Linked DNA regions of Homo sapiens: regions 1 and 3 are each linked to region 2. The links are contacts of gene promoters, found by promoter capture Hi-C in blood cells and fetal thymus (Javierre and others, 2016). All regions are on one chromosome and are shown on one strand. Each heading gives the region's core, a stretch centred on a gene start or on the middle of the fragment in contact. The rest is flanking DNA. Distances are from core to core; before and after follow the strand shown. Region 1 has its middle 8.8 kb from the start of LINC00102. Region 2 holds the start of AKAP17A (A-kinase anchoring protein 17A). Region 3 overlaps CD99 (CD99 molecule (Xg blood group)).

Region 1 (2,700 bases), core at 92-2,591, 1.0 Mb before region 2:
GTTCAGGATATAGTAAGGAAAAATATATTAAATCCTTTCTATGTAACAAAAATAAACAGAAAGATAGTGGGCATAAAAATATATCCAGAAAAATGAAAAAAAAGAAAAAACTAGAAATGCATTAAAAGAAATCATCAGGGAAAGAGGTACATCGAATATCAAGAAAAATCTCAATTTTGCAGGCATGTTGGTTCTGAAGTTCAAAGGAAAAAACGTCAGCTGGGCACGGTGGCTCACGCCTGTAATCCCAGCACTTTGAGAGGCTGAGGCAGGTAGATTATGAGGTCAGGAGTTCGAGACCAGCCTGGCCAATATGGTGAAATCCTGTGTCTACTAAAAACACAAAAATTAGCTGGGCGTGGTGGTGGGTGCCTGTAGTCCCAGCTGCTGGGGAGGCTGAGGCAGGAGAATCGCTTGAACCTGGGAGGGAGAGGTTGCAGTGAGTGGAGATCGTGCCACTGCACTCCAGCCTGGGCGACAGAGCAAGACTCTCTCAAAAAAAAAAAAAAAAGTCACCAAAATCAGAAAGCTCCGACAAATATAAGACACCATGAATAAAAATTTGAAGACTTGCCTGTCAAAAAATACTGTTAAACTATTCAATGGCAAAAATAAGATGAAAAAGCATTTTCATAGTAAATGGTTGGCAATATTTAATGTCTATAAAAAAATGAGGAACGTTTATAAAACAATACAGACATATCGGAAGATAAGAATAAAGGCAAAGTAATCAATACATATAGAAGAAGTAGGCTGGGCGCAGTGGCTCATGCCTGTAATCCTAGCACTTTGGGAGGCCGAGGCGGGTGGACTGCCTGAGCTCAGGAGTTGGAGACCAGCCTGGGTAACATGGTGAAACCCCATCTCTACTAAAATACAAACAAACAAACAAAAAAATTAGCCGGGCATGGTGGCATGCACCTGCAGTCCCAGCTACTTGGGAGCTGAGGCAGTAGAATTGCTTGAACCCGGGAGGCAGAGGTTGCAGTGAGCTGAGATGGTGCTCCTGCACTCCAGCCTGGCGACAGAGCGAGACTGTATCTCAAAAAAAAAAAAAAAGAAAAAAAAAGAAGTATACGTGGCAAATTGATGTACTATTTACTATTTTTTTTTAAATTGCAGAACTAAAGAACTGAAACTAGGCAAAGATTAATGTTACATGTGATAGTACATGACAAAGGTTTTCTAGGTGATCAGCAGCAGTAACGATGGTGGGAAGAAAGGGACATTTGCACATATCCCTGGCATCAAAATAAATTCATATAATTCTGGGCCAATTTCAGAACCAGGTCAAAACTACAGAAGTACTCATACACATTGATCTGAACAATTTGCATTCTAGAAATTGATTCGAAGGAATAAAAACAAGTGCATAAAGTTGATTCAAATTGACTTTGAAATCCATAATTCTAAAATGTTAGAAGAAACATAACATTGTCAAAATTAAATATTGAAGTATATAATTATGTGGGAAATAAATAAGGACATAAAATGGACAGTAAAAGTCATGTTAGAAAGACTTAAATGACATAAGAAAATCATCAAGAAATATGAATATGCCAAAAATAACGTTACTAGCACATAACTATCAAACTGTCAACAGGATTTGGACACTAGTTATATTTTTCTGTGTTACAAGTTAAACAAGCATGTAAACAAAAAAAAATCACTAACGATCTAACTATTTGAAAAGCACTCACCTCTCCACTGGGAATGCAACTATCCCTTCCTTCATATCATGTCTGTATTTAAAACCTCGTATTCAACTTTTTAGAGGTGGAATCCAAAAAATCTCAGAATTTAAGATTCTATTTAAGATTTATGACTTAAATCTTAAAATCTTAGAAGTAAAATCAGGACGCTAAAAATATAATCCAAATCAAAATTATATAGTTGAAAACTAGGTTTTGGAATTTCCTTGTACAAGGAGTGAAGAGTGAGCACAGGTTTCATGTGAAATCTCCCAGCTGACATGGATATCACTGTCCTGTAAACAACATACAGATGACCCATAGGGTTAGAGGCTCTTACCGGTGGAATCAGGCTGCTTGGGGTTTGGATTTGGCTTTGGTTTGGGTGGGTTCAGTGGTGCTGGCTCGTCTGTTTGTAAAAGATGAGAGTTGAGATTATGAGTGCCTTGAAGTGAAGAAAATGAAACATCAATTTGCATGCAGACGTTCACTAAACATATAAAAATTGGACCTTGTTCTTTGTCATGGTGGGGATACCCATACACACAGCCTCCTGCCAATATCCTTCCAACATCTTCCAGCTACAGTACTGATAAAGCATTTTCAATAAAACCTATCAGGCAGCTTTTCAGATCAGCTACAGAATTGGCAAGGTACTGTGTAAAATGAAAATGCAGAAATCCTTGCTCAACTGAATATTAAGAATTTCAAGATGACAACTAAAGACTCATAAACCAATATGGCACCCTTGTAAGCATGGGTCCCTGGGTGATCGAACAAGTCACACACTCATGAAGCCTAACTTGGCCAGGGGAGTCAGATTTGCCTTACATCATTCCAAAGACTGTGAGAGTTTTAAAATAAAACTATGCATACTGGTAAAAACAAAAACAAAGTCCAACAATATCCAAAACAAACAACAACACACCTACTCCCTAACTTTCCACTGTGCAAACAGGTTTCATTTATCATTCACAAGAGATACGTTTTTTGGAAACAATAATAATTT
Region 2 (2,700 bases), core at 87-2,586:
GGGCTGCAACAACAATCCAGAACCATGAACCCTAGTAATCTCCACGAAGGCCAAACGTATCCCAGCTTTAACCCACTCAAAGCCAAAAAGTACAACGAACTTTCCACAAGTTAGGGGCCGGAGTCCCCCGTCTGCGCCTTCTTTCTCCGCCCACCTTCATTAACCCACCTCTTCCCTGCTGAGCTGACGGGCAGCCACTTCCTGACGGCCAAGTCCAAGTAGAGGAAGCTTCACTCGCAGAAACCCAACCATCTCAGGTGACCGCCTCCGGCCCGGCCGCCCACCCCATCAACCTGGAGGCTTCCTGCCAGGCCCAGGAGACGGCCTCCTCGCCCAAGCCCGAGGTGGGAGGTGCGAAAGAAGGGAGGGAGGGTGGAGAAGCGACCAGAAAAGGTCAGTGGGGCACCAGGGAGGGGCTCCAGTCTGGACAGAGACCAGTGAACCCTCCCCCAGAACCCAAGCGGCCCCAGCAACTTCACCACCGAGGAACCCTCCCCACTCTGGCCTCCAGCGCCCTCCGACCACCCCGGTACACCTGGCTGCCCAATCCCCAGTACGCGGCATTGCCCCTGGTATTCCCACCTACCGCAGCCCCCCAGCATGGCCTCAGGCTGCCGCTGGCACCCCTGGCAGGGCCCCACACATTCTCAGGCCCTTGGCCACTCGGTACCCTCAGCTCCTCAGTTCCCCGCTCCCCACCACCCTCCTGGATGAGCCCCAATACCCCAACCTACACAGCACCGCCCCAGCCTCCGAAAACCCCGGACAGCCCCTTGCTTCCCACTGTAGACCTAGGAGCGACCGCAGCGCCACGTCCCCTAGTCCCAGGCCTCCTAGTCTCCCGCCCATCCGATCCCCCGAGCTCCCAGCCCTCCGACACCGCTCCAGGCCTCAGCTCCTTCGGTGCAGTCCCAGGAACCGCTCCAGCCCCTACCCCTACTTCCAGGGACCCCCGGACCCCGACCGCAGACCTCCCCAGCCCCCGATTCCCCCGTACAGTTTCAGGCGCTCCCAGCCCCCCGGTGGCACCCCACGCCCCCCAACCCCAGCCCCGTCACCTCCGAGGCCCCTAGGCGCCGCCTCCCAAGCCCCGGCCCCCCGGGCCCGGCCCTAGGAGCGAAGCGTTCGCCGGCTGCAGCCAGGCCCGGGAGGCACGGGGGCGGCACTCACCTGCGCGGGGCTCCGCCTGCGTCCCAGGCCGCCGCCGCCGCTGGCCCAAGCTCCCGCCGTCCCTCGACGATCCCCGGACAGGCGCGGCCTCACCGCCGGGAGCCGCCACCGTCCCCCGGAGGCGCCTCCGACGCCGCCACCGCCGTCGCCGCCCGCCCTCTATGACGCATTTCCACTTCCGGCGCGCGGGCTCGCGGAAGAGGCCGCGCGGCAGCACCGGGTTTCTCCTTCTTGCCCTGGCTCCGCCCCCGGGAGGAGGGACTTCCGGGAGCCCGACCTTTTGCACTGCGCGTGCGCGAGTCCGCCCCGCCCCCATGGTGCCACCTGCCTGCGGGTAACCAGGGGAGGTACTTGGGCCAGGGTCTGTGGTCATAGCCCTTAAGCCAAACAGGAGGGGGGCCGGTGTGGGGTCTAAATTCCAATTGTAGAGTCAAATATATATAACAAAATTCTAAAATGTAATAGGATCCTATAACGGGATTCTATACTATACTTGCAAATTATGGGTAATATACTTGAATAATATAATTTATGTATAAATTAGATATCATATTCTATGACGTAATTATAGAATTACATATAAATTGCTAGTTAATTAACTATTAATTGAATGGTTAATAATTATTAATTGTATATTAATAATTATTAACGCATACCATTACATAATGTAATTATGAAATAATAAATGATAACTTACAATGGTATTATGAAATTAATAATAATTTATATTGCAATTATGAAATAAATGATCATTTCTAATTATAAGATAATTTATAATGTAATTATGAAATAAATATAATGTAATTTAAAAATAAATGATAATCTAATGTAATTATGAAGCAAATGCTATTGTATAATATAATCATAATTTATAATGTAATTTTGGAATAATAAATGATAATCTATAGTGTAATTATGAAATAAATGAAAATATATAATGTAATTCTGAAATGATCATTTATAATGTAATTATGAAATAATAAATGACAATTTATAATGTGATTACAAAATAATAAATGAGGCCAGGTGCGGTGGCTCACGTCTGTAATGCCAGCACTTTGGAGGGCCAAGGCGGGCAGATCACAAGGTCAGGAGTTCAAGACCAGCCTGGGGCCGGGCCCGGTGGCTCATGCCTGTAATCCCAGCACTTTGGGAGGCCGAGATGTGCGGATGATGAGGTCAGGAGATCGAGACCATCCTGGCTAACACGATGAAACCCCGTCTTTACTAAAATACAAAAAATAATCAGCCGGGCGTGGTGGTGGGCACCTGTAGTCCCAGCTACCAGCTACTCGGGAGGCTGTGGCAGGAGAATGGCGTGAACCTGGGAGGTGGGGCTTGCAGTGAGACCGTGCCACTGCACTCCAGCCTGGTTGACAGAGCGAGACTCCATGTCAAAACAAAACAAAAAAAAGACCAGCCTGGCCAGCATGGTGAAACCCCGTCTCTACTAAAAAGACAAAAAACTAGCCGGGTGTGGAGGTGGTTGCCTATAGTCCCAGCTACTCAGGAGGCTGAGGCAGGCCCGAG
Region 3 (2,700 bases), core at 100-2,599, 1.1 Mb before region 2:
AACAGGTGCAAACGACCAGGCTATGCTCCTGCATGTATAAATGAAGCGTGCATGCATATGTCACAGGGGTATGTGTGTGTGAGTGTGCATGTATATTTGGGCATTTGCAGTGCACATGTATGTATTTGTGGGTTTTGTGTGCATGTATGGGGTGTGTAGGTGAGTTCTGTGTGTGCATATGTGTATGTGTTGTGGGTGCATATAGGCAGGTGCATGTATGTGTGGGTTTGTGTATGTGCATATGTGTAGGCGTGTTTTGTGTAAGTGTGGAGGTGTATTTTGTGGGTTTCTGTGTGTGTAGTGTGTTTTTTGTGTGCATATGTGTCAGTGCATGTTCATGTGGGTTTGTGTGTGCATATGTAGGTGTGCACAGTGTGTAGGTGTGTTTCTGTGTGCCTATGGATGCATGTATGTGTGGGTTCTGTATGCATGTGTGTAGGTGTTATGTGTGCATGTGTGTAGGTGCATGTATATGTGGGTTTGTGTGTGTATGTGTAGGCGGATGTAGTGTGTATATGTGTTTTTCATGTGCATGTGTGCATGTGTCAATATGTTTATGTGTGTAGGTGTGTTTGTGCATGTGTGGGTGTGTGCATTTGTGTGTTTGTGCCTGTGTGGGTGTGTGCATTTGTGGGTTTGTGTGTGTATGTGTAGGTGTGTGTAGTGTGCAGGTGTGTTTCCACGTGTGCATATGCATAGGTGCATGTATGCATGTGTTTGTGTGCACACATGTAGTTGTGTGCACGTGTGTGTATGGGTAGGTGAGTATAGTGTGAAGGTGTGTTTTGAGTATGTACATACAGGTAGGTGTGTCCACGTCTGCTTGTATGTCTGTGTGTGTGTGTACTCATGGCTGCGTGTGTGTTTCTGTGTGTGTCAACAATAAGTAGAAAGTAGACAAAACGCTCGGAACAGCTCTGTGGGCCCCATGCCGGCAACCAGAGTGGAGTCGTTTCCACAACCTCAGAGCCCTGAAATGGCTGTTTCCACAACAGGACACTTGCCAGACATCATAAATGCAATTACAGCTCCTCCTGCAGCATGCGGCAGATCTTTAGACGGTAGCAAGGGAGGATCCTACTGATCCAGAATAAACCATAAGGCAGGTACAGACACACGCACATATAAATATATATATGCACTCATGTTCATATGTTTCCATAGAAATCTGTAATTGTATTTTTTGAAGTATTTTTTTTCTTTATTTACATCTTACCTCGCCTATTTATTTGTGGTGCAAACAGTTCAAAGCTACTGTCTTAGGCATTTTCAAGTATGCAACGCATTCTTACTAACCACAGTCACCCTGAGTACAGTAGACCCCTGAACTTATCCCTTCCTATCTGATGGAAATGTTGTACCCTTTACCCATCATTTCCCCATTTCCCCCACCCCTCACTCCCAACCCCTTGGTCACCGCCATTCCACTCTGCTTCTGTGAGTTCAGTGGTTTTAGATTCCACGTAAGCGTGTTTGGGTCAGACGGTATTTGTCTTTCTGTGCTCGGCTTACTGCACTTAACATCATGTCCTCCAGTTCCATCCATGTTGTTGCAAATGGCAGGACTTCCTTCTTTTTTCTTTTTGAGACAGAGTCTCACTCTGTTGCCCAAGCTGGAGTGCGATGATCTTGGCTCACTACAACCTCCGCCTCCTGGGTTCAAGCAATTCTCCTGCCTCAGCCTCCTGAGTAGCTGGGACTATAGGCGCCCGCCCATCATGCCCAGCTAATTTTTTGTATTTTTACTAGAGACGGGGTTTCACCATGTTGGCCAGGCTGGTCTTGAACTCCTGACCTCAGGTGATCCACCTGCCTCAGCCTCCCAAAGTGCTAGGATGACAGGCATGAGCCACCGCACCCAGCCAACCTCCTTCTTTTTTAAAGCTGAATACCATTCCATTGTGAATATACCCTATTTTCTTTGTTCATTTAATAGCTTTATTGAGGCATAGTTTACATAGCATGAAAGGCACTTATTCTCACTGTGCAAATGAATGGCTTTTAGTGAATGTACAGAGTTGATATAGCACATTTTCTTTCTGCATTCATCCCTTGATGGGCTCTTCCATTGACTGCATGTCTTGGCTACTCCGAATGGTGCTGCAATAAACATGGGAGGGGAGTGTCTCTTTGACATACTGATTTCCTTTCCTTATCCCAAATAAACATATATATATATACACACATACACATACTATATATATATATAATACACACACATACTATATATACACATACTATATACATACATACTGTATATACACATACTATGTATACACACACTACATATATACACACCATATACATACATACTATATATACTATATATACATACTATATATACGAATTATATATTTATACAAATATATATATACACATATATATATTATATATATATAGACTTGCCCTGACTTGCTGGGAATACCCTGAAGGTTTAGAAGTCATCTCTGGGGCCGGGTGCGGTGGCTCACACCTGTAATCTCAGCACTTTGGGAGGCCAAGGTGAGAGGATCACGAGGTCAGGAGTTCGAGACCAGCCCAACCAACATGGTGAAACCCCGTCTCTACTATAAATACAAAAAAATTGGCCAGGCGTGGTGATATGCGCATGTAATCCCAGCTACTCAGGAGGCTGAGGCAGGAAAATCGCTTGAATCCGGGAAGTAGAGGTTGCAGTGAGCAGAGATCATGCCACTGCAC

What was found. The method cuts DNA at HindIII sites, captures the fragments that hold promoters and counts their contacts. A CHiCAGO score of 5 or more calls a contact.
Region 1: a fragment that was not itself captured here is called in contact with the fragment with the promoter of AKAP17A in region 2 in 5 of 17 cell types (total B cells, total CD4 T cells, total CD8 T cells and 2 more); the score reaches 9.4 in total B cells.
Region 3: a contact is called between a fragment that was not itself captured here and the fragment with the promoter of AKAP17A in region 2, in 1 of 17 cell types (activated CD4 T cells). The highest score is 6.3, in activated CD4 T cells.

Annotation. Positions count from the first base shown.
Region 1 is chrX:2,622,785-2,625,484 of GRCh38, reverse strand. It overlaps the pseudogene CD99P1. Among named protein-coding and RNA genes, the nearest start is that of LINC00102, 8.8 kb to the right of the region's middle. The HindIII fragment of the contact is 3,854 bases long and covers 1-2,700 here.
Region 2 is chrX:1,590,240-1,592,939 of GRCh38, reverse strand. AKAP17A (A-kinase anchoring protein 17A) reads right to left here and starts at 1,336. Exons shown (of 5, transcript NM_005088.3): 1 at 1,171-1,336. The HindIII fragment of the contact is 17,990 bases long and covers 231-2,700 here.
Region 3 is chrX:2,710,922-2,713,621 of GRCh38, reverse strand. All of the region lies in intron 1 of CD99 (CD99 molecule (Xg blood group)), which reads right to left. Among named protein-coding and RNA genes, the nearest start is that of CD99, 21 kb to the right of the region's middle. The HindIII fragment of the contact is 3,844 bases long and covers 1-2,700 here.